Linked DNA regions of Homo sapiens: region 1 is linked to region 2. Evidence: promoter capture Hi-C in human tissues and cell types (Jung and others, 2019). All regions are on one chromosome and are shown on one strand. The core of a region is centred on a gene start or on the middle of the fragment in contact, and the rest is flanking DNA. Distances in the headings are between cores, read along the strand shown.

Region 1 (5,840 bases), core at 2,634-5,133, 150 kb before region 2:
ACCTGGCCCTGTGTTTATGGAGCCCTGGCTTTCCCAGACACTGGGAGAGGCGACCCCACACCTGTGGCCCAGCTGAGAGCTCCTTGCTCAGCAGTGTACCCGCCATGCTCTTGGGGGAGTGGAGGTGGGTGTTCCTGGCAGTTAACGGCCATGTCTGGTCACTGCGTATGAATGACATCTGTCTCTGCAACGCTTGTGCACCTGACGTTGGGCATGTCCTTATATGGCTCTCGCTTGCTCTCAGTGAGTGGAAAGATAAATACCTTTTCAAAGAGCAGATGCCAACTGCCTGCGGTCCCTGGCATCCACAGCTGCAGAGCGAGTGGGAGACAGTTCTGTCGAGAGGCAGGTGCTTCAGTCCTGGGGGAATCGGGCACTGGGTGTGCTGAGAACCCAACAGGCCTCATGCAGACAGCCTGAATGTGGAGCAGGGTTCTGCCACGGACATGTTGTGGGATCCTGAGCAGGTCACATGCTTTCTCAGAGCTTCTCTTTCCTTCCTGCCTCTGGTTGGTCCTGAGGTTTAAAGGAGAATGTATGTGAAAGGGCCTAGCACAGTTCCTGGCACCTCCCAGAGCTTGACAGGCACTTGGATTCATCCTTGTGTCTGGCACATGTGATGATCCCTTCCAGTAAGCAGTCACAGTTGGCTGGGGGCTGCTTCTTCCATCAGGACCTAGCACAGACACAGGCTAGGAGCTGCTCTGGAAGGGCAGTGGAAGGTGTGGCTGGCTGGCAGGGTGAGGTTCTGTGACTGGGGCAAGAGTAAGGGTGATGTCCTGGAGGGATTCCAGATGGAACCAGACTCTCCCTCTGCCTCCTGGAGCCTCTGCTCCTAGGGCAAGCATGCAGGGGCTTGTGCACTACCATATCTCTGTGTTAATTCCCTAGGGCTGCCATAACAACCCACCACAACTGGATGGCTTAAAACAATGAAAATGTATTCTCTAACAGTACTGGAAGCCACACATCCAAATTTTGGGTTTCGGCAGTTTGGTTGCTTCTAGAGACCGCAACGAGTATCTGTTCCCGGCCTCCCTCCTAGCTGCTGGTGGTTGCAGGCCATTCTTGGCATTCCTTGACTTGAAGACACATAATTCCAACCTCTGCCTAAGTTGTCACATGGTTGTCTCCCTCTGTGTCTATCTGCCTCTGTGACTTTTCTCTTATAAGGACACCAGTCATTGGATTTAGGGCTCACTCTACTCCAGTGCAACCTCACCTTAACTAATGACATCTGCAGTGACCCTATTTCCAAGTAAAGTCACATTCTGAGTTTCTGACAAGGATATGAGTTTTGGGAGGACATTCTTCAACCCATATAATCTCCATATTTGTTGAATGAATGAATGAATGTGAAAGCCATCCTCACATGTCTGCTCAGGTGTATTGATGTAGAATAGAAGGTGGGGATGTCTCTGGTGCCCTAGGCATGTGAGGGTGGGGTGGGGGACAGCACCAGGATCATCCCCTTTTCCTGTCCAAGCCTCTCCTATTTCTGGCCTCTACACCCTAAGCTTAGCACCCTGGCCACCTCCTGACTCAGCCAGTTTTTCAGGTAGAAGCAATTACATTTATTACAGGGAAGGCTGTTCTCACCTTCCTTTCTGCCCAGCATCTCAAAACTCTTTTTTTTTGAGATGGAGTCTCGCTCTGTCACCCAGGCTGGAGTGCAGTGGTGCGATCTCGCCTCATTGCAAGCTCCGCCTCCTGGGTTCACGCCATTCTCCTGCCTCAGCCTCCTAAGTAACTGGGACTACAGGCGCCCGCCACCACGCCCGGCTAATTTTTTGTATTTTTAGTAGAGATGGGGTTTCACCATGTTAGCCAGGATGGTCTTGATCTCCTGACCTCGTGATCCGCCCGCCTCGGCCTCCCAAAGTGCTGGGATTACAGGCGTGATTGCCGGGCCAATCAAAGCTTTCTTTTGTTTCTCTTCCCCTTCCCCTTGGAGCCAAGAAGGACACAAGGATGGCTCGGTGGCCTTGGGCAAATGACCCTGCCCCCAACCTTAGCTTCTGTTTGCAAATGAAGGAGGCAGAGCTGGGTGTTTCCAAAGGTCTTTTGCATCTATAATTATCTCTACTGTTTTACTGCTGAGATAATTGTGGGCCAGGAAAGTGTGCCCTTCCGTCCCACACAAGGCAGGACTGAAATCCATAGGCCCTCATTTCCAGCCTGTCCCCAAATGCTCTGTGCCATCTCCTGGAAGCCCTCTGGGATTAGCATGATTCATATGTGGTTCCCTGGGGTCCTCACTGTGCCCTGTGTGTGACACATTAATTCACAAGTACTACTGGCCTGGGCGACTTATCGAGACCCCATCTCTGCAGAAAATTTTAAAAATTAGCTGGGTATGGTGGTGTGTACCTGTAGTCCCAGCACTTGGGAGGCCAAGGCGGGAGGATCACTTGAGCCCAGGAGTTTGTGGCTGCAGTGAGCTATGATCGTACCACTGCACTCCAGCTTGGGCAACAGAGCAAGACCTCATCTCAAAAAAAAAAAAACGCAAAACAAAATTCACAAGTACTAGCCTGCCATTCAGATGGTATGCAGGAGTGTGCATGTTCATGTGTGTGTGTTGTTTTCCCCGTGTTCCTCTCCCCTCTGTTTCCTCTGTAGGCAAGAACTCTATGCATTTTTCTGTGTCTCTGTGTTCCCCCAGTACAAGTACCCAGCACAGGACTCATTATGCTGGGTTGTGGGCCAGCCTCAGAAACATAAATATTAGGAGATCTACTAAAAGAAAAAAGAGAAAAATATACAAATAAAACAACTACTGTGCTTTCAGTTGATGCCAGAAAAGCATTTGATAAAGTTCACTATCCATTTAATTTTTTTTTTTTCTTGAGACGGAGTCTCTCTGTTGCCCAGGCTGGAGTGCAGTGGCGCAATCTCGGCTCACTGCAAGCTCCGCCTCCCGGGTTCACGCCATTCTTCTGCCTCAGCCTCCTGAGTAGCTGAGACTACAGGCACCCGCCACCATGCCCAGCTAATTTTTTTTGTATTTTTAGTAGAGATGGGGTTTCACCGTGTTAGCCAGGATGGTCTCGATCTCCTGACCTCGTGATCCGCCCGCCTCGGCCTCCCAAAGTGCTGGGATTACAGGCGTGAGCCACCACGCCCGGCCTATCCATTTAATTTTTTTAGAGACAGGACTCCCATGTTGCCCAGGCTGGCCTTGAACTCCTGGGCTTAAGGGATTCCCCTGCCTCAGCCTGCCGAGTAGTTGGGACTACAAGTGTGCGCCACCATGCCTAGCCTCATTACTCCTTTTTTTGAGATTGAGTTTCGCTTTTGTTGCCCAGGCTGGAGTGCAATGGCAGTGATCTTGGTTCACTGCAATCTCTGCCTCCCGGGTTCAAGCAATTCTTCTGCCTCAGCCTCCTGAGTAGCTGTAATTACAGGTGCCCACCACCACACCTGGCTAATTTTTGTATTTTTAGTAAAGACGGGATTTCGCCATGTTGGCCAGACTAATCTTGAACTCCTGACCTCAGGTGATACGCCCTCTTGGCCTCCCAAGTGCTGAGATTACAGGCGTGAGCCCACTGGCCCCAGCCTCATTAATCTTAAAAACGTAGAGACTGAGGGATAGGCAAATATTTCAACATGATAAAGAATATCTCCCATCGGTAGCTACTTTATCTTTTTTTTTTTTTTTTGATATCGAGTCTCACTGTATTGCCCAGGCTGGAGTGCAGTGGCGCGATCTTTGCTCACTGCAACCTCTGTCTCTGGGTTCAAATGATTCTCCTGCCTCAGTCTCCCGAGTAGCTGGGATTACAGACGTGTGCCACTATGGCCAGCTAATTTTTTGTATTTTTAGTAGAGGCGGGGTTTCAACATGTTAGCCAAGATGGTCTCGATCTTCTGACCTTGTGATTTGCCCCCCTCAGCCTCCCAAAGTGCTGAGATTACAGGCATGAGCCACTGCGCCTGCCCCCCCACCTTTTTTTTTTTTTTTTTTTAACTTGAGACGGGGTCTTGCTCTGTCACCCAGGCTGGAGTGCAGTGGCGTGATTTAGCTCACTGCAACCTCCACCTCCTGTGCTCAAGTGATTCTCCCACCTCAGCCTCCTAAGTAGCTGGGACTACAGGTGTGAGCCCGCTTTTTTTTTTTTTTTTTTTTTTTTTTTTTTTTTTTTTTTTGTAGAGATGGGGTTTCGCCATGTTTACTAGGCTGGTCTTGAATGCCTGAGCTTAAGTGATCCCCCTCGGCCTCCCAAAGTGGTAGGATTATAGGCATGAGCAACCGCACTCAGATACTTTATCCTTAATAGTCAAATGCTCTAGTAGCATTTTCCAAAGTATGTTTGAGGAACACAGAATGCTCCTGGGTATTGCATCAAAAAAGCATTCCAGGGCCAAATAACATCTAGGAAGCACTGTTGCTCTAAGACACATTCCTTTTAATGTCTGTTGCAAGACAAGCATGCCTTCTCTCTCTTTAGTACTGTTCTTTATTCTAGATTCAAGCCAATGCAACAGGCTAGGAAAAAGAGGCAGGCTGGGCGCGGTGGCTCATGCCTGTAATCCCAGCACTTTGGGAGGCCAAGGCGGGCGGATCACGAGGTCAGGAGATTGATACCATCCTGGCTAACGCGGTGAAACCCCGTCTCTACTAAAAATACAAAAAATTAGCCAGGCGTGGTGGCGGGCGCCTGTAGTCCCAGCTACTTGGGAGGCTGAGGCAGGAGAATGGCGTGAACCCGGGAGGCAGAGGTTGCCGTGAGCCGAGATCACGCCACTGCACTCCAGCCTGGGCGACAGAGCGAGACTCCGTCTCAAAAAAAAAAAAAAAAAGAAAGAAAAAGAGGCAGGGCATAACTCTCAGATAGGAGGTTGCAAAATGAATGTTTTGAGTGGATACAGCCGTTGTCTTAGGTTTTCAAAGTAGACAAACTCAAAATTAATTAGAATAAGACAGTATGGCAGCCTGTTGCAAAATAAGTAGGCAAACACCATTGTTTTTCTATGCGTCAGTGGAAACCATTGTTGAATTTGATGGGTAGGAGCACCTCTAACACCTGTTTGCTTGGGCATCAACACGCCAGTGACCTTATTTTCTGGTTAGAAACAAGAGTAACACCCGGACAGTTCAGGCAGCTGCCAGCACCTCCTGGGTCCCCTGCGACCTGGACTCCCAGGAAATGGAGGGCAGCGGTGTAAGTGGCGTGATGCAGGGTGTTCAGCATCTCTCAGTGGGGTTATTCTGAGGACTCTTCCAGAATGTTTTGAACACATTTGTGCACCATTAAGTCGTTGTCACAGAGCCTGGAAGTCCATTATTTCAAGCTCAACTCATCCTGGATGATGGATGTGACTTGAGGAGGGATGAACCATTCGTGCATTCTCCAAGGGCAGGGCTCTCAGAAATTCCCTGTAGCTTTGTGGTCCCTTGCCCTGGCATCCCCTAGACCACCATGCTGAGGGCAGTGTTTGGACGAGACCCCAGTGAACAGAGCCTGGTTGTTGGAAGTAAATCTTTTGCTCCTGCTGGAAACCAGAGAACAGACACTGCTTCATCACTGCTGTCATTCATGCAAGCTTCATCACATTTTCCCAGTCATTATCCTGATCTTTCTCAAAGGCAATTCTTGCCTCTCTTTCAATCAACAGAGAACCCTAGAGATAATTCAGTCTTTGAGGGATTGCTGAGTCATTCAGCTGACTGGGGCTACCATGATGAAGCTGAAGTTCCAATGTCATGAATCAGGCTGTTCTCGGAGGCCACGGAAGGGGTGGATGGATGTGTGTCTGCCAGCTGTCCCACAGGCTGAACCCATCATGCTGGCCATACTTCCTAAGTCATCCTCCCTCCTCCCTAGTTCTTTTTC
Region 2 (3,222 bases), core at 94-2,593:
AAACTGAAGCCCAGAACGCCAGACAGGGCCCAGGCTGGAAGCCAAGTCTAGCCTACACTCCTGAATCTATCTGGGTCAACTGCAAGTTCCAGACTGTTAGCTGAAAGGGACTTCTAGAAGGGGACCCATCCTGTTTCAGGCTGCCCCAACCTGAGCCTAGCTGGGATGAGAACCCCTAGATGTACCTCAACCATCTGGGCCCACACAGGGACAGGAGACAGTCATGGCCAAGTCCTGTGTTCCAGAGGTTGCTGAGGACTCTCCTGGGAAGCTTCCCACCACTGACTCCAGGGGAAGGAGGAGGAGGGAGTGGGGCAGCAGCCCTGGCAGCAGCCTGCGGGGTATATGGTAAGGTGTGAGGAGCCCAGGGGCCTGGAAGCTGTGGCTGGGATCACATCTGCTCCTGCTGTAAAAGCTTGGGCAAGGGATCCCTCTTTAAGCCTCAGCTTCTCAATCCAAAATGAGAGTGGTGCTTGTGCTTATCTCACAGAGCTGTTAAGAACGGCATGACTAGGCAACTTAGCAACTTAGCATTTCCCCTTCTCTCTCCTGGTGCCAAGACTCAGGTGTGGAGGGATGAGTGGGGGGCAGGAAGGAGGAAAGTGAGGGCCTAAGTGACCCTTCAGGGATCAGGGACTGAGGCTAGGCTCAAGCTGTGTCCTCAAGCTGCGGACACAAATCTAACGAGGAGGAGCTGTGCAGGGGCAGGGGACTGGTACCTCTGCTAACAGCTGCTGGAAGTCCTTGGCGCTAACACAGCCTCGGCTGCGCAGGATCTGGGAGCAGAAAGAACACTGAGCATGACTGTATGACCTGAGGAAATCCCTTCACTCTCTAAGCCTCAGTTTCCCCTGCTTAAAATGGGGAGAGGAGCCCCGACCTCAAAGGATCATGGAGAGAATGAACTGCGGAACCCTGTCAAGCTCAGGACAGGGCTCCGGGCTGGTGTTGCTGTGAGGCGGCAAGCTGAGCCCGGCCCTGTCCTAAGCACCCTACATGCTTGTTCATTCCTTCCTCACAATCTCACAGGGAGATACTATTACCCCTTTACGGTGAGAAAACCGAGGCAGAGAGAGGCCGTCATTCTTGTATTTGAAGATACGGTGCGCGGCGTGCGCAAAGCAAACGACCCTGGGGACGAACTTCCCTCCTCCACTACCCCTCTCTGCCCACTGCTCCGTAGGGACGACAGCGGCCACTCACCGGGCCGTAGTCCCGGCGCAGCTGCTGCTCGCCTCGGAAGCGCACGTGCAGCCCATAGCGCGCCACGTACAAGTTATCGGTGCAGAAGCAGGCGCAGCGGCAGAAGTGCCGCGGAGCCCCCACCGTCGCCATAGTGAAGCACCCACAGCCCTACCAGCTTCCGTAGAGAGACTTCGGGCACGCCCCCAACCGCGGGAGGCGCGGAACCAGCGGCCAAGGGGCCGCTCTAAGTTCCCAAGGGCGGAAAAGGACGAAGACGCACCTCGCCAGGAAACGGTCTGCGGAGAAAGATGCTCCTGGGCCGGGTTGGGACCGGCGGCCTCCTCGTTCCGCCTCCCAGTTTTCCCACTACGAGGCAGGGACTAATGGCTCCACTTTACAGACAGCTGAACTGGGTCGTGCCTTCACAGGACGGGGAGAGGAAGGGACTCGGAGCCCCAAGGCCTTTGACTTAAACGCCGACCCACCCCCCGCCGTCTGCCCGGAGCTCGTGGAGAACCAGCCGAGCTGAGGACAGTTTAAAGAGCTCGGAGGTCCGACTAGTTCCCGCTGGTGCTTCAATCATCCAGCCCTGTACGTTTCAGTTTGGATTTAGCATCTACCCCGGGTCCCTGCCTGGCGCTTCCGGTCCCTCCGCCACAGTCTGTTGGATTACCTCAGATTGCCCCAGTGAGTGTCTCCACCAAAACGCTCCGTCTCGCATTACTTCCGGTGGCGTTCCCAATGGACGCGGGAGGGCGGGGTCAGGTGTGGGAGGGCGACGGGGCGTGGTCTCACCGCAGCCAACAAATGACAACTCTTGCAGACCGAGCCTCTTCTCTCCCCGGACCTTTGCTCAGGAATCTACCAGCATTAAACCTTTGAGCTAGGTACTATTATATCACCGTCTTACAGATGAGGAAACTGAGACCCAGAGAGGCACAGGGACCCGCCGCAGGTCACACATCCAGTAAGGGGCAAATATGGCGTTTGAACCCTACAGAGTTCCCCAGTTAACCACCACAGGGCTTCTGGGAGTGGTGGAAGTATGTGGGATTTGGGGTTTTCTCGTGCAGAGCTGCCCGGCCCGAGAAGGTGTTTAACGTTTTACAGTCGTCTTGATTGCCCAGTGATAGTGAGAGGCCCTGCTATCTAGGAAAGGATCCATTTCCCCAGATCAATGTTCATTACCCGCCTAACTGCCCTTTTTCCCCAGGAGGCCCAGGGCAGGTCGGCTCCCCAGCCACCCACCAGGCAGGCCTGGCACATGCAGCACCCCACCCCACCCTCACCCCCTCTCCGTTTGCAGCAGTTTGCAAGATGAGTGTGTTGTACCTATCAGTTTATTTATTTGTTTATTTACTTTTTGAGATAGAGTTTCACCCAGGCTGGAGTGCAGTGGCGCGATCTCCGCTCACTGCAACCTCTGCCTCCCGGATTCAAGCAGTTTTCCTGCCTCAGCCTCCCGAATAGCTGGGATTATCGGCAGGCGCCACCACGCCCAGCTAATTTTTTTGTTTTTTGTTTGTTTGTTTGTTTGTTTTGAGACGGAGTCTTGCTCTGTCGCCCAGGCTGGAGTGCAGTGGCACGATCTCGGCTCACTGTAAGCTCTGCCTCCCGGGTTCACGCCATTCTCCTGGCTCAGCCTCCCGAGTAGCTGGGACTACAGGCGCCCGCCACCACACCCGGCTAATTTTTTATGTTTTTAGTAGAGACGGGGTTTCACCGTGTTAGCCAGGATGGTCTTGATCTCCTGACCTCGTGGTCCCCCTGCCTCGGCCTCCCAAAGTTTTTGTTTTTTTTTTTTTTTTTTTTTTTTTTTTTTTCTTTTTTTGAGACGGAGTCTCGCTCTGTCGCCCAGGCCGGACTGCGGACTGCAGTGGCGCAATCTCGGCTCACTGCAAGCTCCGCTTCCCGGGTTCACGCCATTCTCCTGCCTCAGCCTCCCGAGTAGCTGGGACTACAGGCGCCCGCCACCGCGCCCGGCTAATTTTTTGTATTTTTAGTAGAGACGGGGTTTCACCTTGTTAGCCAGGATGG

What was found. Contacts are between HindIII fragments. The study calls those that stand out against the background at their distance.
Region 1: a fragment that was not itself captured here is called in contact with the fragment with the promoter of OGFOD2 in region 2 in 1 of the 25 tissues and cell types used here (dorsolateral prefrontal cortex).

Annotation. Positions count from the first base shown.
Region 1 is chr12:123,126,577-123,132,416 of GRCh38, reverse strand. The region is part of intron 1 of PITPNM2 (phosphatidylinositol transfer protein membrane associated 2); the gene reads left to right. Among named protein-coding and RNA genes, the nearest start is that of PITPNM2, 22 kb to the left of the region's middle. RefSeq lists an enhancer at 4,158-4,769. The HindIII fragment of the contact is 4,327 bases long and covers 1,720-5,840 here.
Region 2 is chr12:122,973,365-122,976,586 of GRCh38, reverse strand. It overlaps OGFOD2 (2-oxoglutarate and iron dependent oxygenase domain containing 2), which reads right to left and starts at 1,343. Exons shown (of 7, transcript NM_001304833.2): 1 at 1,204-1,343; 2 at 720-776. The coding sequence starts at 1,335. It also overlaps a transcript of ABCB9 not described here. RefSeq lists an enhancer at 1,439-1,898. The HindIII fragment of the contact is 12,569 bases long and covers 1-3,222 here.